4 separate regions of the Homo sapiens genome follow, and regions 1, 2 and 4 are each linked to region 3. The links are contacts of gene promoters, found by promoter capture Hi-C in blood cells and fetal thymus (Javierre and others, 2016). All regions are on one chromosome and are shown on one strand. Each heading gives the region's core, a stretch centred on a gene start or on the middle of the fragment in contact. The rest is flanking DNA. Distances are from core to core; before and after follow the strand shown. Region 1 holds the start of GABPB1 (GA binding protein transcription factor subunit beta 1). Region 2 holds the start of USP8 (ubiquitin specific peptidase 8). Region 3 holds the start of DUT (deoxyuridine triphosphatase). Region 4 holds the start of SQOR (sulfide quinone oxidoreductase).

Region 1 (5,698 bases), core at 1-2,500, 2.0 Mb before region 3:
GAAAAACATCAGAATTTGGCAAATTTCTATTAACTGAAGAAATGAAAATATTAAATCAAAAGAAAACACAGCCTATGGTTCCTATGCTTTTTTTCTATTTTAGGCACAATGCTTTAATAAATTACACAAAGACTACAAACCTTTATTACATCAATTGTTACAAAAGGCTAAGTGGAGAAAGATTACTTATCTGAAGCTGCACAAAATCAGTGGGCAATATGGATTTCATTTAAGCTTGTCAATTCTCCTGGATTAAATTCTTGGCGCTGTCTCACATATTCCCAAGTCCTACATGTAGGATGCTAAAAGTTGCAGTTACTAGGTTGGGAAAGCCATGCCCAGACGCCCCTGTGAAAAACATATCAATATATTAAGTTCCTTAGCAAATCACATCTAGATTAAGTTCATAATGCTTTTTTTTTTTTTAACTTTGCAAATCTCCAAACTTTTGCTACTTTCTTAATAAAATACAACAAAATTTTTGGCATTCCAGCCACGGAAAAACAGATCTCTACCTCTGAGGTGGCAGTAATCCAAGCAGTTACTAGGATCTACGAAACATGAGGCATAATTAGAATGTTGGGGAAAAAATCTACAGAAATATCTATATCTTCGTCATGAACCTGACTGTTGAGTTTATGAAAAAGTGGAAAAGGAACCTCACTCGTTCCTTCCCTGGTACCTTCACAGCGTCTCCCGTCCCAGTCTGCCTAGTTGAATCTAGGGACACTTAAAGGTAAATCCTAGCCTCTTGGCTGTCCTTCCGTCTCCCAGGATTCTGCTAGGCCGCACAGTTGGCAAGCTTAAAACTCCAAAGATTCCGCACTCTCCGTCTTTCAACAGTCATGTCACAGAGACACGAAGGTTAGCACAGGAACATTAGTTTCCAAACTCCTACCCACCGCAGAACAGGCGGGAAGGTTCGGTGGCCACCCGGCCTCTCCGCCGCGCACATGGCCGTCCGCAGCTCCCACCCCCGCTGCCGCGCAGGCGCCGGGCGAGCCGGGACTTGCGGTCGCCGAGAGCGGATCATTCCGCCGCTTTCTTTGTGTGGCTGAAGCGCTAGAAATGGCATATTTTCTTTCCCTTCGTTAAAAAATCAGACCCTCTTTCCCCTCTCTCCCCGCGGGAACACAGCTAGGGAGTGGGTAGGAGCAGGATCTGCCGACGAGGGCAGAGGCGGAAAATCCTCGGGCGATGAGCTGAAGAGGGCCGGGTCCGGGAGGGATGCTGGGAGCTTGACTCACTCGCACACCATGTGTCCCTCCGCGCGCAGCACGGGGGACTTTTCGGTGGGGATTTTGGGCGCCGACCAGACGCGGCATTTTCGGAAAATAGCGCCCTGTGCAGCTGAAGCGCTTTGTGTGTAGCGGGGCCGCGTCAGCCCGGCCGGGTACGAGGCGCCTCGGGTCCCCGCACCACCTCCTGCTGCCTTCCCGTCGCCGCTCCCGAAGCTTTTCCAGGTCAGTGCGGGTCTGTGTAGGGCCCTGTTACCACCGGATGTGGAAGTTGATCTCTTCGCTGGTAAAAAATAATTCCACTTCCCCCGGAACCCAGATCATCCCCGCGATTTCCTGTTTATTGCATTAAGGCGCCGGGTTTCCGGGGCTCCTGGCCCCGCTTATTCCGCGGGGGTCGGCGGGGTCGGCCTGGGCGCCCGCGCCGCCGCTGCGCTTTGTCCGCTGGGCACACTGCTTCTGGGAGGGGCGGGCAGACATGGTGGCGGCCGCCGCCCCCTCCTCGGCCCTAGCATGCCGCGGCCGCCTCGCGGCTACCCGGCTTGCCGGTCCCGAGCGGCAGCCCCGGGGTGGCGATGGGGTCGCGCCGAGGCAGCGGAGGTTCTGCGGGCGACTGGAGGTTGGCAGTGGGCGGGAGAAAGAGGAAGGCAGGCGCGGCTGGGCCTCGGCCTCTGGCGCCGCGGTACCCTTTGTCTCGGCAGCCTGACGGCCCCGCCGGGCTCTCCGGAGAGGGGAACGGGCGGCGAGGGTGGCGGGTCCTGGGCGCCCTGTGCTGCGGGGCCGAGAGGCGCTCGGGTCGCGGCGGGATCGGCCGGACCAGACAGGGTTAATGGAAGAGCCTGGCCAGTCCCGCGCGGGGCCCCCGCAGCGACAGCCTTGGCCGCGGGGACTGGAGTCCTGAGGGGGAGAAGCCTGCCGTTCTGAAGGCTCGGGACTTCTGCCCCAAAGACTTCGCCGCCGAGAACTGCGGGTGCACTGCCTCAGGGAAGAAGTTGAGAATTTTGCCAGGTCATCTCTGCCAGGGCACAGTTCATCACTGTGTGTTTAGTGTGTTTCGGTGAAGCTCTCCAAGTGTGTTGAATCAGCGTGCCTAGCCTCAAGGGTGCATCGTGAAAACTGAAACCAAAGGAATGATACAGGCCTGCTTTGTGTGTGTCTTCCCACTTTAAGCTTGTTTTCAGTACAAATACTCTTGCTTTAAACCTGATTGGACTGTGGCGAGCGGACATCTGTTCAAAGGAGGGGCCGAGACCACAGTACTTCTGAAGGGGGCTTGATAATGTGGAAACATTTTAAGTTTTCTCTCCGGACTGTTTTGCTCTCTCAATTCAGGCAAGTTACTGAAGTACGTTTTTTATCTAGAAAAAGGTTTGATGTAGTCTGTAAATGGTCCTTGTAAAGTACATTGCCATCTCAGAATTAAAAGATCCACTCTCATTTATTATGCAGAAGTTAGTGGTCATTCTTTCCTGTAGATAGTTTATCTCATGTAAAGACCCACCCAGCTTGGTTTAAATTTTTTTCTCACTGACGTATAACCATCAGCTTTGATACTTCCATTTTCAGGCTCAGACTTTGAATTTAAGGAAACTAAAGATGACTTTATTTTCTTTTCTCTTGGTTTTTTTTTTCCAAAAACAAAAAATAAATCCATTACATGTTAACATAGATGATAAGAGTGACATCTTGCATTTTTGCAAATCTTTTTAATGCCTGGTTTAATAGAAGATTCTCAGATCTACGTCAGACTGTTGTGGTTAGCACACCATGTAACCTCTGGAACACTCCACTGTACACTCATACTTTTTTAAAAAAAAAACCAAAAAACAGAAATGTGTCATTCTTACCGTGCTTTCACCATACAAGTCAAATCAAGCTGTTATGCAAGACACATTTTAACAAGACTGAATAAGATTGATTCCCATACTTTTTTTACTGGGCTCTAACTTTTTTAAAAGTTGGAATTTAGGTGACTAAACAAAATCACAGATGAAGACTGCATAATCTGCCTATGATCTCGGAGACTCAGGAACATTCGAAGATATTCTTAAGTGATTAAAACATTTAATTCTATTACATATTTATAATGATTTACACAAGTAACACGTGAATTCCACATATGCTATCAACACTTGTGTAAATGTTATCTTTAAAGATAGAACATGTTGAAAATTATAGGAGGTACAGATTTTACAGAAAATTAATTCTGCAGTGAATCCTTTGGTGAAACGAACAGTTTGCAGAGACATATCCTTAGAGTTCTTTGTCTCTCTGAATCATTCTGGGTTTTCTAGGTTGGGAGACAATTATACTTATTGGGAGACAATTATACTTAATTGATTAATGCATAAAAATTTAAGGCCGTATTTTAATGGCTTTGAAAGGAAGCTAAGTTTGTTTCCAGTTGTTTCTGTGAACTGTAGTCTGAATCTGTCAGTCTATAGTTCTCTACTGTTCCATCAACAGGAAGCATCTGGTCATTCTTCGTGTAATTGTTAGAAAATACCAGGTGTACTTTTAATGTTTGCTGTTCAAACGAAAATAGATTGGATCTTGGTTAAGTTCACTTGGTTTGGCCAGGCACAGTGGCTCACGCCTGCAGTCCCAGCACTTGGGGAGGTGGAGGCGGGCCGATCACCTGAGGTCAAGAGTTTGAGACCAGCCTGGCTAACGCGGTGAAACCCCATTTCTACTAAAAATACAAAAAATTAGCTGGGCGTGGTGGTGCGCGCTTGTAATCCCAGCTACTCGGGAGGCTGAGGCAGGAGAATCGCTTGAGCCAGAGAGGCAAAGGTTGCAATAAGCCAAGATAGCGCCATTGCATTCCAGCTTGGGCAACAGGAGCGAAACTCTGTCTCAAAAAAAAAAAAAAAAGTATGCTTGGTTTTAGTGTGTTTTTTCCCATAACATTGTGTCATTGTAATGGACCACATCTCCTGTACCATGAATTTTTTTTTACTTTTTTCTTTTGCCCCTCAGTACCAGAAATATTAACAGGTAACAGGTAAAGTGCACGTCATGAGGAATTCAGAAATTCAGAAATTACATGAAGTTTTGCATCATGAATTTATTTTTGAGGGTGCACGAGGCAGTTACCCAGTCTCTGTTTGCAAGTAGCCTGAGTTCAGATGAACTCACTGATGGCCTCCATCTCTTCTGACTTTGCAAACGTTGAAAAACAAACCCACACAAAATCTTGAAGTTGAGAGCAACTTAGTTTCCTTAGTGTCATCCCTCTGCTCCCCTCTCCTCCCCAACAACTAGTATGGTTTCCAGCTAGTAATCACAATGTTTCTATAGCTCTGATGTGCCTACATTGGGATAGCTACAATTAGTATTATAGTTTTCTGAAGATGTTTGTTCCATCATGCTTTCTAGAAGGTAAATCTAGCACTAGATGAGATCAGTATTAGGGCCTGTGTTTTTTCTCAGTGTTGACATCACAGTGCTCTATACAAAGAAGATGCTTTGGTGCAATCAGCTGTCAGTTCAGTTGGTGGGCTAGTGCACCTTTCTGTCTCCCTCCCTCCCTCCCTCCCTCCCTCCCTCTTTCCTCTCTCCTTCTCCCTCTGTCCCTCTCCCTCTCTCTCCTTCCCTCCCTGTTTTCCCCTTTGCACCTCTTCTTTCTTTGACAGGGTCTTGCTTTCTCTGTTACCCAGGCTTAGTGCAGTGGTGCGATTATACTTCACTGCAAGCTCCACCTTTCAGGCTCGAGCGATCCTGCCTCTGCCTCAGCCTCCTGAGTAGTTGGGACTACAGGTACCTGCCAACATGTCTGGCTAATTTTTTAATTTTTTGTAGAGACGAGATCTCACTGTGTTGCCCAGGCTGGTCTCAAACTTCTGGACTCAAGTGATCCTCCCACCTTGGCCTCCCAAGTGTTGGGATTATAGGCGTCAGCCAACACACCCATCTGTGAATAATTCTGAAGTTGGTAGAACAGCTTATTGACAGAGCAAGGTGTTAGCCCCACTTTACTGTGTACTAGTTATATTATATTTGGGGTATTGTGTTGGCTTTTTGGGTAGCATACTATCATAAGTGAGACCTTGTATTCATTCTCAGACTTTATCAGAATCATCTGGAGAGCTAATAAAAAGCCACACAGAGGCCCAAACTTAAGTAGGGTAGGAACGGACCTTAATTTTTCTCATTTCCAAGGTGGTAGACACCTAAGTGTCAAAATCACTTATCTGTAGAGCATAAACGAGGACCTTGATCATGAGAGAAATGGAAATGAGAAAAAGTTGAAAAAATGGGATGTTTGACCTAAAGAAGAGGAGCTTCTTTTAAGAAGTAACAGCCACTTTTAAGGATTTGGAGTTCTGTCATGCAGAAGGATCAGATTTGACTTGACCAGAAGGAACTAGGGTCAGTGGGTGGAAGTTTAAAAGAAGCAGATTTCAATTCTCTTTCAAGATAAATTTCCTCAAAATTGTGAAAATAGAATGAGTTGTTTT
Region 2 (5,253 bases), core at 1,790-4,289, 2.1 Mb before region 3:
CATATGACTTTGAACAAATTCCGTAAATCACTCCCAATACCACCACCACTCTTCAGTTTACTTTCATCTGCAAAATGAAATAGGAACTATTTGTCTGCTTCTATAGGGTGACCATAGGTATCAAGTGAAAAAATATACAAAAACATGCTTTGAAAACTGTAATATGCCATTACAACATAAAGTATTACGGTTAAAGAAATTGGAAATGGGTCAGGCGCGGTGGCTCACGCCTGTAATTCCAGCACTTTCGGAGGTTGAGGCAGGTGGATCACAGGTCAAGAGATCAAGATCATCCTGGCCAACATGGTGAAACCCCATCTCTACTAAAAATACAAAAATTAGCTGGGCTTGGTGACATGCTACTCGGGAGGCTGAGGCAGGAGAATGGCGTGAACCCAGGAGGCAGAGGTTGCAGTGAGCTGAGATCGTACACTGCACTCCAGGCTGACAACAGAGCAAGACTCCATCTCAAAAAAAAAAAAAGAAGAAGAAGAAAGAAAGAAACTGGAAATTGGAAGTGTACCTGATTCTTCATCTGCTATATAAATGCAAACAAGAGTCCAATACAACTTTGTCATCAAAATTATAGTAGGCAAAGCACGGCCACAAATTCTTTGACATTTTTCCTTTCAAAGGTGAGGGTTGTACGCTGGTCTTTGCTCTAACCAACAGAGTATGTTGGAAGTAATGTTGTGCGAATTTCTGGGCTCAGGCTTTTTGGGAGACTGGCAGCTTCTACTTCCTGACTCCTCAAACATGTATTCTCGGAACCTAGCCGCCATACTGTTCAAGTCACGTGAAGAGGCTATGTGTGGGCATTCCAGTTGACATTTCCAGCTGAACTCCTAGCCAACATCAAACGCCTTCACGTGAATTAGCCATTTTGGATGTCCAGACCAGCTGAGCTCTCGGTTGACTCCAAACTCAGCTGCTTATCTGAATACAAACGCATTAAACTCTAGGTGAAAACCACTTAGCTAAGTCCAGGCAGGCCAGAGAAACAGGAGAGATACTAAATTACAGTTTTAAGTCACTATGTTTTGGAGTGATTTGTTATGCAGCAATAGGTAACTGGGACAACAACAAGGTATTTTTTAAATGTTTCCTTAATTATATCTAATTTTATTAGCAACACATACCTGAAGACATTTTTTTCCTTTCACTTCCATAAATATGAGTGCATTTTCATGGAGAAAAGTTCGTAATATAGTGCTAGACTTATGAAAAAAATTTAATGTACTGGCTTTATTTTCCAACTGTCTTACCCAAAAGTCATTTTGATTATTTTCCATTATGTCCACGCTTTTTATTTTTTATTTTTTGAGACGGAGTTTTGCTCTTGTCACCCAGGCTGGAGTGCAATGACGCAATCTCGGCTCACTGCAACCTTCGCTTTCCAGGTTCAAGCGATTCTCCTGCCTCAGCCTCCAGAGTAGCTGGGACTACAGGCGTGCACCACCACGCCCAGCTAATTTTGTATTTTTAGTAGAGACCGGGTTTCGCCATGTTGGCCAGGCTGATCTCGAACTCCTGACCTCAGTGATCCGCCCACCTCCGCCTCCCAAAGTGCTAGGATTACAGATGTGAGCCACTGCGCCCAGCCACGTCCACATTAATAAACAAATGCCCATAAAGATTAAAGTCCAAGTAAATATATTAAAAAACGAAATGCTAAAAAAGGCACCTTTAAAACATTTTTGTTAGTTTTTCTTATACATTGTTTTCTTAAAAAAACAGATGTCTATGTGCAAAATTTCATTAATGAGAGGTGTATTTTTTTTTTAAACTACTACAGGGTCTTCACTAATATTAAAGATGCATCCAATGTGTCACAAGAAAAGGAATACATATTTCAAAGCAGCCATATCAACATGATAAAGACATAACACAACCGATATCACCTTCCAGATATGCTTAATAGTCCAGGGATATGCTGTAAGGAGAAACTACCCAAATCCATCATGAATGACATTCACCAACGAATCTTAAACAGAATCGGCTGAAATGCAAAAATCTGCTTACATAGCAAAGCCGCAGCAGAGCAAGCCTAAAACAGGAATACTTCCTTAACAAATACCACTTGGCATTTTTAATGGCTGCAGCAAGATATTTACAAAACTAACGATGCTTTGCAGATTCAGAAAAGGTAACATCCTTTAGATATAAATCCCTTTCATCTGAAACCCTCAGGTCTCTTAACAAATACTAAATTCCTTAGGCTCTGCAACACCTCCGTGTCAGGTAAATTTTTTGTTAGTGATTAAGTGACTTGTTCAAGGTCACAGAATGAACTGGAGGCAAGAAATAAACCCAGGAGGGTGGTCTGCAGCTTTATAATGCACATCACTGCTAGTAAGGATTCTGATAATTTCCAAGGTGGAGTGGCGGTGAAATTAACTTGTCCCACAACTCTAGGATGGAAGGCACTTTTTAGGGGAAAAAAAAAAAATCTTCTATTTGAGGAAGTCATAGTTTTAACTCTGACAAGCTTATAGGGTCTTTAAACTCAAACTTCACTAAAATCAAGTGTGACTGGGGAAGAAGAGAAACTGGGAAACAGTTTTAGGAGCTACAGTAAGGCCTGGGATTGTAGGCAGATTGCAGAAAAAAAAAAAAACCGGAAGCAAGAGGAAAGAGGTCAAAGTCGGGTATAAGTGTCCAAGAGAACGGAAGATTGGTCAAAGCCACCTTTTAAAACCAAAAAAACACACGAAACTCGCTTGGCAATCCTAGGTAGATGGCGTAAAAGACTCAAGGTTGGGCCTTTCCTCTCCACAAGCTGATTCTACCTTTAGGAGTTGTCCCACTCCTCTCCGCGGACAGAGCTTGTCTCCGGGGTAACCAGCAGCTGGTGGAAGGAAAGGCGTTCATCGTTCACAGCGGACGACTTCCCAGAGAACAGGTGCTAGGGCCCAAGACCCGCACTCACCGTGACGCCGGGCGCGCTTCACTAACGCCAGCCTTCTCGCCAAATGCCCATCTCCCAAGAACTCGAGGGAGAATTAGCCTTGGCTACCAGGACGGAAGCCAGCCCAGCTCACCCCCTTTTCCCGATTTGCATTGCGAGGCGACGCGTCGCGTCTCCAGACGTCACGGCAGGGGCGGGGCTTCGCGTGCGCTCCCTTGACTCCTCTCTCTTCCACCGCCCTCCCCTTTTCGGTGAGGGCCGCGGGGCGAGGGATGGTCGAGGGAGGGTCGAGGAGGACGTTATGGGTGGGCGGTGGCGGCAAGGGCGGGGTTTCTCTGAGTCGGGTCAACATAGTTGGCCGGTCCCTTACCCCCCGCACTGCACCCTGCATTTCCGGGTTGCAAGGCGGCGCCTGGGCCTTGTTGTGGAAGAAGCAAGGTTGCTCTTGCGTCCCTTTACTACGTTATTTTCCTCCTCAGATTGGAAATTAGAAAAAAGGGGATTTAACGCCCCTCTATTTCTGGCTAAACATTCTCTGAAGCCAAGCCTTTGGTCAAAGAAAAACAAGTATTATCCTAAAACATATTTTATGTACAATTTTTAACGTCACTTAAAAGGCCCCGGCGAGGCTGGGCACGGTGGCTCACGCCTGTAATCCCAGCGCTTTGGGAGGCCGAGGCGGGCAAATGATGAGGTCAGGAGTTCGAGACCAGCCTGGCCAACATGGTGAAACCCCCGTCTCTATTAAGAATACAAAAAATTAGCTTGGCGTGGTGGCGTGCGCCTGTAATCCTAGCTACTCCAGTGGCTGAGGCAGGAGAATTGCTTAAACCCGGGGAGCGAAGGTTGCAATGAGCCGAGATCGCGCTACTGCACTCCAGCCTGGGCAGCAGAGCAAGACTCCGTCTGGTTGGGCGAAGGCCCCGTGTAATAGAAACGAAATGAGACGTCTGAACTTTCTCGCGAGCTGATCTTTGTACTCTCTTAGAGAAAGGTGATTGGATGCTCCGGTTGCCTGTAAACATAAAATTGACTTGGGTGGAGCTTTAGGCAGTAGTCACTAAGTCCTCAGGAACATTCCAGGTGTCTCAGGGATGGGAAATCTGGCTAGCGAGGTCTAGTAAATGCTTTAAGTGAAAGTGTGTGCCACATGGTACAGTGTACACTGCTCGGGTGATGGGTGCACCAAAATCTCAGAAATGACCACTAAAGAACTTTTCCATGCAACCTGTTCCTCCAAAACTACTGAAATAAAAATTTTTAAAAATAAAAAAGGATAAAATAAAGAAAGTGTGTTCAATGAATTTGTGATGAAGGCCAGGTTGCAGTGGCCCAGGCCTGTAATCCCAGCACTTTGGGAGGCTGAGGCAGGAGGATCCCTTGATCCCAAGAGACAGAGACCAGCTTGAGCAACAAAGGGAGACCCTCATCTCTACAAAACAAAAATTTAAAAATTAGACCGGGAGCGGTAGCTCACGCCTGTAATCCCAGCACTTTGGGAGGCCAAGGTGGGCAGATCACTTGAGGTCAGGAGTTTGAGACCAGCCTGGCCAAAATGGCAAAACCTGGTCTCTACTAAAAATACAAACATTAGCTGGGCATGGTGGCGCGTGCCTGTAATCCCAGCTACTGAGGAGGCTGAGTCAGTGAATCGCTTGAACCTGGAAGGTGGAGGTTGCAGTGAGCCGAGATCGTGCCACTGCACTCCAGCCTGGGCAACAGAGCGAGACTCCTTCTCCAAAGAAAAAATCTAAGTTACAAATAGGATTTCCATTTTCCATAGAATCTAAAACTCCCCAAATTGCTGTGAACTACAGCAGTATTTTCTCCATTTGGTAAGAGACATAAGGACAGCTTAACTACCCTTCTTTATCCAAACTAAGTCAAAAACAGAACCCAGGTTTCCTGATTCCCACTCCCAAGTAAAACTAAATAGGTTTTATGTATGTTGCAGCTGTTGCACCCTTTTCCTCTTTGAAATAAAACTTTTCTATTTCATTGGGGAAAGAAAACATGACTGAAAGTCCAAAATGTGGCCAGGCGCGGTGGTTCATGCCTGTAATCCCAGCACTTTGGGAGGCCAAGGCGGACGGATCACGAGGTCAGGAGATCGAGACCATCCTGGCTAACACGGTGAAACCCCATCTCTGCTAAAAATACAAAAAATTAGCCAGGCGTGGTGGAGGGCGCCTGTAGTCCCAGCTACTCAGGAGGCTGAGGCAGGAGAATGGCGTGAACCCGAGAGGTGGAGCTTGCAGTGAGCCGAGATGGTGCCACTGCACTCCAGCCTGGGCGACAGAGCAAGACTCCATCTCGAAAAAAAAAAGAAAGTCCAAAGTGTTAGC
Region 3 (5,671 bases), core at 8-2,507:
ATTACTTAAAATAACCACAAAGCTTTTCCTCCTATTATAACAAGCTTTCCTCTAATCATTTTCTTTTCTTAAAAATAAAATCTGTCATTTGAATATTACCTTTTAAAGACAAAGTAAATACTTGCAAACATTTACAGAATAAAAAAGGAAATATATTACCTCCTACATCAATAAAGTGTTTTGCAGCCAAGCCTGACCGTGGAGCTAAAAAACAAAAAAGGAGACATTGGTTATTTTAAGGGGGAAGGGCTATATCAGAGATAACTGATGCAATTTAAGCATGTCATTCTCTTCACCTATAATATCTATATCTTCATCTTAACTTTAGCACATGGTTTTGAATTAAAGAATATATATTCATCATACTGCATTACCAAAGTTGGAAAGACTAGTTTAGAAAAATTCCACAAGGTTTTAATTCAAAACTAACTTAAACCACTCCCATGTGACTTCAGTCAGAATTTGTGGTGCTGCAGACAGGGGAGAAGGACTGCTAGAATGAGCTGAAAGGTGAGCAAGCGGGAACAACTGTAGGCTGCTCTTTCAAGAAGTTAAGCCTCAAAGGGGAAGAAAGAGAAGTATGGCCAGCAGGAACACACTACTGAGGAAGAAGACTTTGGTTTTAAGATGGGACACCACAACATGTACAATGCAGATGGGAAGGGAAAGGAAGAGGAAGGGAGAGGGAAACAAACCTAACCAAATAGTAGCAGACCATAGCCTACAACTTGGGACCCCACTATTCATGATTCAGATGCCAAAAGACATGCCTGTAGGAAACACATGAACCAGAGTAAGATAAATGGGCTAATATCAGTTAAGTAAAAATGCCAAAAACTAAGTCTCAATGATTCAATGCTAGTATACTTTTTAATCCTAAAAAATGAAAAAAATAAAAAGCTAAGGTTACACCTTATTATTGCAGACTCAAGCATCAGGCCTATAATTAATTATCCTAACTTCCAGCATTTTATTTTAGAATAATTTAAATCAGGCACTTTGTCAATAATGCTGCCTCTTTCTGTACTAACCTTTATTTCACTCCATCTCCTGCCCCTTCCCCTGAAAAAATTCTAAAAAATGGAGTCAATGATGCTCAAGAGATGAGATGAGAGCCCATCTTGTTATCTTTTAAGGGCTGAAGTACTGGCAGTTTCCTCACTCATGGCTAATAATATAGTGCCAGTCTAGCTCCTTTCCCTGGAGGAGGGCGTCACAGCTCCATTGCCTCCTTTATGTTTACTCTGAAGTTAGTCAAAAAGAACTTACGCTCTTGCAAAGAACTGTCTGGTAACAACTGATCCGCTCCAGAAAAATCAAACCTGTTGACGTGTACTCCATTTTGTCCTAGCTCCTCCCAGTGCCTCTACAACACTGAAGAGTATCCCTTACCCTAACCCCATGGCCAAACAAGAAAAGGTTAAGTAGGCTTACACATTCTGGGACCAACAGGTCAGAAGTTTTACTCTCATAATATAAAATGCCATGTTCTGAGAACAGCCTTCTAGGCCAGTGTGAGCCTAAAAGCTCCAGTGAGGAAGGAGAAAAATAAAAGGGTCAAAAAGAGGCAAAGCAGAGATGTAAATAAAGCCTTTCAAAGAGTGCATTTGCTATCACAAATGGTGCTTCTTTTAGGACACAGCCCAAGCAATATTGCCTGCTTATTACCCCAAATGAAACATGAAGAATCTATCACAAAGGAGAACTTGACAAATAGTTACCTGTTTCTTAAATGACTTACCCACTCTTCCATAACACCCAGAAGGGAGCGCTATCTGAATGTCCGTTTTCACAACAGCTTTCTCCATAGGTGGTATTGTGTAATCATAGGCACTAAGAAAATATTGAAAGAAAATAACTGCAAATCTATTTATAAAATTGTTTTTATATTTTCTTTGTGACCAAGCATACAAAATTACTTTCAGTGTATTTAATGAATTAATGCAACTTTAGTTTCTAAAATCAACCTTGCTATGATGAATTACCAATTCATCTTAAAAGTTTATGAAGAAGGTAGAGGTGGCTATTTTATTATTAAAAAGACAGCTTTAGATAAAATAATTCTCCATGAATATTTTTGGTGGTGTGAAGAGATGTCAACATTGTAAATGTTTGCCCCTGAACAAAAGTTTATTGGAAACTGAGGTACTTATCAGCGTGAAAGGGCAGAAAGGCAAACTTTCAAAAGGTGGATGCTTTACAACCATAGTTTGAAAAGGAAAAAAATGAAGAAAGAACAAAGAAAAAAGGCCAAATACTACTAATAATACTAGCTATCATTGATTAAGCCTTTACTGTGTGCCAGGAACAGTTCTAATTGGTTTACATATATTAACCCATTTTATTCTCACAATGATCTGTGTGATTAGGGAAAATATGCAGAAGGAAAGGAGAAAAACGGGTGGACAAAATAAGAGATAAAGAACTGTGTTGTATCTGTCAGGCAGGGCTTGGTAGTTTACCAAGCTTAGGCTATGAATTTCCTGGCTGAGGGAGACAGCTGATCACCGTGAACGGCCCCTGGAGATGGACCTTGCTTAGGAACAGAATTCCTCTAAAGTCCACATAGCAAATGCTGCTACTCTTGATATTACTGTGGCCCTCTCCTGGGTAGAAATTTAAGAGATTTTACAATGAGCAGAACCGGAAGTTTACTTTGGAGACCTTAATTAACTCTGGTAAAGCAGTACTACCCCTTCTTTCACTGAAATCCCTCTTTAAACAGTTAAGCCCTAATTTATTGCTGATCCATTATTTCCATGTCAATTTCAGTATACAGAAAGTCACCTGTGTTTATTAGGAGTCTACTTAAGGTATCTTAAATCAAGGACTCCCCTAGGACTCAAGAAAGTGCTCCAAAATATACTTTGGAAAGGTCTAGTCAAACTATATCACTCTACTTTTATTCATCAAAATTAAGAGACTGTAGTTTTTCCAGCTACAATTGTCCATACCTACTTTCCTTTTCCTTTTTTTTCTGTTGCTATCATCAGGCACTACTTTCTCTTCTCCTGTGCTTAGACTAATAGTTCTCATGTTTGAATTATCTGAGATACTTTAAAATAAATCCCAATGCTTGGGATTTAGTATAAAATCTCCTTCCCTCTCAGCATTACTTTTCTCCTACCTTAATGGTTCTAAGAACTGGGCACAGTAGTCAGATGAAAAAAAAAAAGCCCAAAATTCGGGATAAAAAATTATATCATCTTCAAGCCTCTGGGGAAATCAATTCAGCTCTTCACAAACTCCTGCCTGTGTAAAAAGTAACACTTATCTAGTTAAGGATTGTTGTGAGGACTAAATACAACAGCATACGGAAAGTTTTTAGTACAGGTAAAACGTGCTGTAGAGATGAAAGTGTGGTAGATTACAGGCAGCTCTGCCTTTCGTTTTCAGATGCCTTCTCAAATTCCGCCCTGGGCCGGATGAATGTATAGAAAATAACTTTTTAAGGCAGATGCATCTTCGTTCATCCTTCTTAGGTATTTTCACGCTCACATCTAGGCTCTCACCTTGGTTTTTCTATTGAGCACAGCATCACCCTCGGGCCACTCGAAAGCCACCATGGGCCTTCCTCTCTATCTTCTATTTAGGAAGGGCACAATAAACGTTGCAAAGTAACGCCTTGCTAGACACCGTATAGCTATTTTACTTATTCTGCAGTCTTTGCCCAAATCTCTATTTAATTTATGCCAAAGATGAAAGCTAAAATTTTAAACACGAAAAAGGCAGAAATCCTATTTATAGCTAGTGTGTTCCTGTGATCTCTCCGGTGACTGTTTCTAGCTGTGGCAGCGGACGGCCGGCCCTTCCCAGCCTCCTCGCCGGCAGGTCCCCGCTCACCTGTACAGGTCGTAGCCCGCGGCGCGCGCGGAGCCCCGGGTGGGGGCCGTGGCGTGCTCGGAGAGCCGGGCAAAGCGGAGCTGCATGCCGCCCACCTCCGCAGGCCGGGCCCGCTTACTGGGTGAAATGGCGGGTGTCTCTTCAGAGCAGGGCATGGCAGAGCCAGAAGGCGAGCGAGGAGACCACCGGGGGAAGAGGAGAGCGCACGATGAGCGTCGCCGCAGGGAGCGCGCCAAAACCGAAATTTCCCGCCAGCCCCGCCCCACCCACCGCCCCTCCCCGGGACGAGTCCACAGTTCTGGCTGAGAGGGGAGGCGGGATTCACATTTTGGGTTTGAAGCCCTTCTCGGAAAGCAGGTTTGGGATGGGAAACTACTGGGTCCCAGTCAACTTTCCACATTCAGCGCGTGGGGCCAACTTTGAAGGGGAGCTTCTAGGGCGTCGCCCTCACACACTAGAAAGCCGCCCCCTCGCCAGGGGACCCTAATGGACCACCCCACCCCCCCCGCCCCCCGCGCGCAGAAGGACCGCTCGCCACCCTACTTCCCCCACAGCCTCAAGCCGCGTGGATTCCTTCCAGACGGCCGGAGCCCCTCCCCCGCCTTTCCTACCCGGCCCCGGCGCCGGGCTTCCCCCCGCCTTAGGAAGCTCGCCCTTCCAGCCAGCGGCCCCGACTGTACTGGCTCCGCGGCAGCCTTGGCTCAGGCGGCCAGCGCTGGACAGCGGCCGGGGAATCCCGTGCTGCGCGGCGCGGCCGAGGGGCGGGCCTGGCCCGGAGAGTACCGCGGCTTCGGCCCTCTGCCGTGCGCCTCGCGCGTTTTGCATCGCTGAGCGAAGCAGAGACGTAAGGAAATGGTAGCAGAGCGCGGGGCGAGGGCAGAGGGGAGTCATTTCCCCCAGAGTTTGGGCTGGTTGGGTCCTCGGCACCTCCGGACGTGCGCCAGGCTTCCACCCTGAAGACGCGCCCGTCCTGGGAACATGACCTCGGAAGCAGTCGCAGCCGCCGCCGGACGAGGGGCGTGGAGAGGCGGTGCCCCGGCAGCCCAGGGATGGCGCAGGCCCTGGGGCCCCAGGAAGACGGCGCCGTTGGCGTCTTGAGTCTTGCTGCCGCCTCTGGCTGCCTAGCCCTCTTGCTTTCGCTCTTCTTGTTTGCTCTGGCCCCCATTTTTCCGAGAGTGTACGCCAGGCCCGGGCCCTGCTCCTGGACTGATTTACCTGGGGCGGCACCGCCCGCAGCCATGACTCCCGGGCTCTGAGTTTAGCGGCGCCCTAAGCGCCGGAACCGCATCTCGGCGCCGGTGACAGTTATTGCGCCCGGGGCCGCTCCCCAAGCTGTGGGCAAGACACCGCGCCCGATTTCCTTTCAGCACCGAGTGTCAGACGTTGTAGTGTTTATTCGACCGGAGGCAGGGAGGGCGCTACTATCCTATCACAGGTTTGGGATAACCCAACAGAAACGCAGTGGGAACCCCTTGGCTAGGAGTCGAACAAGGATCCCGGGTCGTGGTAGTATAGTTTACAGTGGGGGATAAAGCAGTAACTTTCTAGATAGTTGTTAATAATTTTTTCTGAGCTGCAAGTATCTCCTTATTTCTCACAAAAATCTGCGAGCTGAATTGAATGGTTTTGAATTTTCAAAATTAAAAAAGCTGTGGGGCAGTTTTAGAGTATTATTGGGGAAATTTTACATTCGTTGCTATGCCTTTCCATACAGGCCCCCCCTTTTCGGTCTCCTTAACTGGTTCGTCTTCGTAGTTGGAATTCCTTTGCATGAGGCTATGGAATATACACTACCTTCTCTGGACGTTAACTATTAGCTACAGCTTGA
Region 4 (5,175 bases), core at 2,676-5,175, 2.7 Mb after region 3:
TTGAAAGTCCAAGACCTCAGTGCTGATGAGACTGGTTTCTCCTGGGATCTCTCTCCCTGGTTTGCAGATGGCCACCTTCTCAGTGTGCCTTTGCGTGGCCTTTTCTCTGTGCACATGTGCTCCTGACGAGTCATCTTCTTATAAGGATACTATTCATATTGGATTAGGGCTCCACCTTAATGACCTAACTTAATTTTCCTTTTTTTTTTTTCTTTCTTTCTTTTTTTGAGACAGAGTCTTGCTCTGTTGCGCAGGCTAGAATGCAGTGGCATGATAATCTTGGCTCAATGCAACTTCCTCCTCTCCGGTTCAAGCAAGTCTCATGCCTCAGCCCCCTGAGTAGTTGGAATTACAGGTGCACACTACCCCACCCAGCTAATATTTTGAATTTTTAGTAGAGACGGGGTTCCTCTATGTTGGCCAGGCTGGCCTCAAACTCCCAGCCTCAAGCGATCTGCTTACCTCGGCCTCCCAAAGTGCTGGGATTACAGGCGTGAGCCACCGTGCCTGGCTAATTATTCTTTTATTGAGACAAGGTCTTGCTATGTTGCTCAGGCTAGCCTCGAACTTCTGAGCTCAAGCAGTTCTCCCACCTCAGCCTCCCAAGTAGCTGGGGCTACAGGTGCTCACCACCACTTCTAACTAAGGCACTATCTCCTAATACAGTCACATTCTAAGATCCTGGGGGCTAGGGTTTCAATATATGAATTTGGTGAGTCCATAACACCAGTATTTGCCCTTCCCAAAGTTACAGACATAGATAGTCCCAGTGTGTTCTAAATTTCCGAGGGTTTTTTTGTTCTGTTTTGTTTTTTTCCACAAAGTTCTCTACCTCCTGTCCCAATTTAGCACTTTCTCAATGTAAATCACAGGGATGGTTGGCTAGATCTACTTTTCTTTATTATTATTACCACCTACATCTGGGGATTACAAAGATTTTTAAGGCTGGGATTAAGAAGCAACTAGTTGGCTTCCAGCCAGGTCTGGGCAGCTTTCCATAAGCTATCCAAACTGCTCCTATTTACCAAGTCTTCAGAGTCAAAGAGGAGTTATATAGTAGATAGTGGAGCAGGGAAACGTGAAAGGAGAAGAAAAAAGTACATCTATGCCCAGAAATGCCTTGTCATGGGTCCGTCTCCATTCTTTATAAGACATTTCCTGTGTTACAACACATCGGATTAACAAAGCTAGACACAGGCAACATGGAGGAGAAACTGTTCTGCAAAGGAATCCGGTTTCCTTTCAACATTCAGTTTCATTTTCACTGGCAGAACACCAGCCACACAGACACGCACACACAGACCCTGGGCCCTGACTGACATTTCAAACACCCCCGTTCCAAATGTGTTTATATATTTTTCCAGCCAGAAAAAAAGCCCCAAATTTAAACAAAGTCATTTCCCAAACCACCAGCTGTCTCCTTAATGAATTTTGTTTTTTGGACTTAGTCACAAGCAACCCTTTCTGACCCACTTATTCATTCAATAAATAATGAGTACCTCCCCAGGCTTGGGGATATAAGGCCATAAGCTTGGGAGGGATACAAATAAGTTCTGATAAATGGTATCTACTTCAGCCCTCTACACTAAGTGCAGTGCTGGGTGCCTTAAATACTTGGGAAGGTGTTATTATCTCCACTGTACAATGAAGAAGCTGAGGCGAAAAGAAATTCAAAAGCCAAAGTTAAGCTGGGTGTGGTGGTTGCTTTGGGAAGCAGACAAGGGCAGATCACTTGAGGTCAGCAGTTCAAGACCAGCCTAGCCAATATGGTGAAACCCTGTCTCTACCAAAAAATACAAAAATTAGCCAGGTGTGGTGGTGGGTGGCTGGTGTAATCCCAGCTACTAGGGATGCTGAGGCAGGCGAATCACTCGAACCTGCGAGGAGGTTGCAGTGAGCAGAGATCACCTCACTGTACTCCAGCTTAGGCGACACAGCAAGACCATGTCTCAAAAAAAAAAAAAAGCCAAGGTTACAATGGGCCTTGGAAATGTCAATGGAAGTGTCAAGCCCAGAAGCCAAGTCATTGGGTCAGTGCCCTTTCTACTATCAGAGGATCTTAACCTGGACCCAAAAACTTAGATGGAAAAGTATTTTACATCTTTATTTTTACGGATATTTAATATTTACATCTTTTATTTCTCTAGTATCTAACTGAAATTTAACATTTACTTCAATTATGTATGTAGCCAACAAACCACAGCAGTATTGGCAATACTAAGACTTTGTCACCAATAGAAATCACAGATATTGGCCGTGCGCAGTGGCTCATGCCTGTAATCCCAGAACTTTGGGAGTCCAAGGTGGGCGTATCACAAGGTCAAGAGATCGAGACCATCCTGGACAATATGGTGAAATCCTGTCTCTACTAAAAATACAAAAATTAGCTGGGTGTGGTGGCACACACCTGTAGTCCCATCTACTCGGGAGGCTGAGGCAGGAGAATCACTTGAACCCAGCAGGCGGAGGTTGCATTGAACCGAGATCGCGCCACTGCACTCCAGCCTGGTGACAGAGTGAGACTCCGTCTCAAAAAAAAAAAAAAAAGAAGAAAGAAATTACAGATATTTTCTTATATTACAAGTATTACCTATATCTTGAAATAATTGTTTATGTTCTTTACTACTTCAAAATTATGGTAACTATTTAATCCACTGCTAGATCTTGTTATTTAATAACCTTGTTATTAAATAACGCATTCGTTTTTTAAAGACATATATATTACCATATCATAAATTCTTTTAATGTTTTGACATGTGTTTTGCAATTGGTTTCCTTTATAATACTCTTCCTTTTGTTTTATACCTTTAAAAAAGCATTGTTCTGGTCCAGCGCGGTGGCTCACTCGTGTAATCCCAGCACTTTGGAAGGCCGAAGTGTGCGGATCATTTGAGGCCAGGAGTTCGAGACCAGCTGGGCAACATGGTGAAACCCGCCTCTACTACAAATACTAAAATTAGCCAGGTGTGCTGCGCCTGTAATCCCAGTTACTCGGCAGGCTGAGGCAGGAGAATCGCTTGAACCCGGGAGGTGGAGGTGGCAGTGAGCCGAGATCGCGCCACTGCACTCCAGCTTGGGCGACAGAGCAAGACTCTGTCTCAAAAAAAAGTATTGTTCTGAGAGTCTTTAGCCTTCCCAGAAATGCCAAAGGGGTGCACAGCACAAAAATGGAACAGAGCCCTGCATTATAGCAATGGGCAGCGCAGGCAAAGCCAGGGGCTCTGTTCAGCGTCTTTGAGCAAAAAGCCAGGTTGGAATTTTGATAAATAAAAGAGACAGATGAAGAGGAAAGGAAATGAGCCCAGATTCCACCAGAAGACCCCTTCTCCCTTTCCACCAATTCCTGTTCAGCAGGTGCCCTAAATCCTCTCCCCTTCAGGTTTCAGCTGCAGCCGACCCCTCGAGCGCCCCCTCTGTCCCACGCGCAGTGTCGGTGGATGACTGTGTCAATCCCTGGCCCCCGGACGCCGAGCACCCACTCCCGCTCCAGGACGGTGCCGAGTGACAGTCAACAGGTGGAAGGCGCCAGAAACGTCCACACACCAAGACCACGGATACTTCGGTTTTTAAGCACCCCTCGCGGGTTGGCCTCTCCGCGGCCCTGAGGCTCTGACACTCTGAGAAGGAAGCAAGAGTCCCAAGACCCGGGTTCCAGACAAGGGCAGCAAGAGCTGCAGGTGTCCGGAGTTGAGGAAGCAAAGTTTGGGGCGCGGCGCACCGGGTCTGCGGAGTCCCAGCTGCGGAAACCGAGTTAAGCTAACAAACAGCCTCAGTGGTGGTCGCTGTCCCCGCCCAGTCTCCCTCCGCTGGCCCAGGGCCAAAGATCGGCCGCGGATGCCTCTTACCCGGGCGTGAGCGGAGCCTTCGGTCACTGCGTTGGCGCAGCAAAAACCTTCGCTCCCTTCTGGGTCTCAAGGCCTGGACTGGGGCCCCGCCCGCCTGCCATCCGGGCGGAGGCTGGAGGCGGGGAAAGCGAGGCTCCCCCCAGGAAAGGTCCCGAAAAGTCCCGCCGTGCCCCGCCCGGCGCCGCAGCCCAGGCACCATGGTCAGTGAACACACCAGGGCGTTGAGCGCTCACGGGGCACAGAACCAGGAACAAGCGTCCATCCGGCCTGGGGTGCTGCCGGCTGGACAGACTCGCCCCTTGCGCGCCCTGAAGGGCGGCCCCGCAGGCTGGGGCGCACAGGCGGAGGACACCGAGGCCACCTGACGCTTCCGCCCCTGGGTGCCAACAGCGTTTTGTAATCAGGGCAGGCAAAAGCGGAGGCGGGGCGCTGTGCAGAGAGGCTCTGGCTGTTCCCACTGGGTCCTCCTATGTGCCCTGGGCTTCTCACCGGGTTCACACAGCTGCCCAGAAACACAGGTATTCCCGCGCTCATTTCACAGAGAAGGTGACCGAGGTTCAGCTTTGGTGTGCGCTGGAGCCCTTCCTTCAAAACGCGCAGGCAGGGGTAAGCTGGCTTCCAGCCACTGGCCTCCACAGTGTCCCATCCCATATTCATGACTGGACATTTTCAGTTGGCGGCTCTTTCCAGGTTGATGTAAAGTCTCAGTGAGTGGTTCTCCACCATATCAGATTCAGTAACCCTTTTTACAATAAATACAGGGTGTCCCAAAAGTCTCATAACCTGAGAAGTGCAAGTGCTAGAAGCTTTCAAAAAAACAAACAAAAATAAACCCTTGAAAGTTTGAGTTTCTTTTACACTTATTTGGTTTTATGAATTTTGAATATATATATATATATATATATATATAGTTGTTGTTGTTGTTTTTTGAAACAGAGTCTCACTGTGTTGCCCAGGCTGGAGCGCAGTGAGTAGAGCAATCTCGGCTCACTGCAACATCTGCCTCATGGGTTCAACCAATTCTGGTGTCTCAGCCTCCTGAGTAGCTGGGACTACAGGTGTGTGCCACCATGCCCGGCTAATTTTTGTATGTTTCAGTAGAGATGAGGTTTCACCATGTTGGCCAAGCTGGTCTCAAACTCCTGGCCTCAAGCGATCTGCCCTCCTGGGCCTCCCAAAGTGCTGGGATTACAGGCGTGAGCCACCATGCCCAGCCTTGAATATTATTTTTTTAAATGTTTTCAACTGATACTTTCTATCTTTAATCAAAGAGACTGACTGTATCTATGGCAAAATCATCATGAACAATACAATACAAACGCAGACTGTA

What was found. Contacts are between HindIII fragments. The CHiCAGO score rates a contact against its expected background, and 5 or more counts as called.
Region 1: a contact is called between the fragment with the promoter of GABPB1 here and a fragment that was not itself captured in region 3, in 5 of 17 cell types (total CD4 T cells, fetal thymus, total CD8 T cells and 2 more). The highest score is 9.9, in total CD4 T cells.
Region 2: a contact is called between the fragment with the promoter of USP8 here and a fragment that was not itself captured in region 3, in 1 of 17 cell types (fetal thymus). The highest score is 7.1, in fetal thymus.
Region 4: a contact is called between the fragment with the promoter of SQOR here and a fragment that was not itself captured in region 3, in 3 of 17 cell types (total CD8 T cells, naive CD8 T cells and total CD4 T cells). The highest score is 8.3, in total CD8 T cells.

Annotation. Positions count from the first base shown.
Region 1 is chr15:50,350,750-50,356,447 of GRCh38, reverse strand. It overlaps GABPB1 (GA binding protein transcription factor subunit beta 1), which reads left to right and starts at 1,250. Exons shown (of 9, transcript NM_016654.5): 1 at 1,250-1,463. It overlaps GABPB1-IT1 (GABPB1 intronic transcript), which reads left to right and starts at 1,569. Exons shown (of 1, transcript NR_026891.1): 1 at 1,569-5,698. It overlaps GABPB1-AS1 (GABPB1 antisense RNA 1), which reads right to left and starts at 2,274. Exons shown (of 1, transcript NR_024490.1): 1 at 1-2,274. RefSeq lists enhancers at 697-776, 845-1,468, 2,207-2,266 and silencers at 977-1,026, 1,607-1,856, 1,867-2,076. The HindIII fragment of the contact is 652 bases long and covers 805-1,456 here.
Region 2 is chr15:50,422,191-50,427,443 of GRCh38, reverse strand. It overlaps USP8 (ubiquitin specific peptidase 8), which reads right to left and starts at 3,039. Exons shown (of 20, transcript NM_005154.5): 1 at 2,930-3,039. RefSeq lists enhancers at 2,792-3,181, 3,220-4,216 and a silencer at 3,292-3,341. The HindIII fragment of the contact is 13,730 bases long and covers 2,491-5,253 here.
Region 3 is chr15:48,330,579-48,336,249 of GRCh38, reverse strand. It overlaps DUT (deoxyuridine triphosphatase), which reads right to left and starts at 4,821. Exons shown (of 7, transcript NM_001025248.2): 1 at 4,455-4,821; 2 at 3,844-3,982; 3 at 1,742-1,833; 4 at 160-204. The coding sequence starts at 4,734. It overlaps DUT-AS1 (DUT antisense RNA 1), which reads left to right and starts at 4,394. Exons shown (of 3, transcript NR_186809.1): 1 at 4,394-4,687. RefSeq lists enhancers at 4,044-4,338, 4,262-4,786, 4,787-5,313 and silencers at 4,044-4,338, 4,389-4,598. The HindIII fragment of the contact is 2,422 bases long and covers 47-2,468 here.
Region 4 is chr15:45,633,779-45,638,953 of GRCh38, reverse strand. SQOR (sulfide quinone oxidoreductase) reads right to left here and starts at 3,925. Exons shown (of 10, transcript NM_021199.4): 1 at 3,846-3,925. RefSeq lists enhancers at 1,155-1,214, 1,245-1,324, 3,154-3,203, 3,234-3,323, 3,786-4,781 and a silencer at 3,804-3,973. The HindIII fragment of the contact is 3,121 bases long and covers 1,533-4,653 here.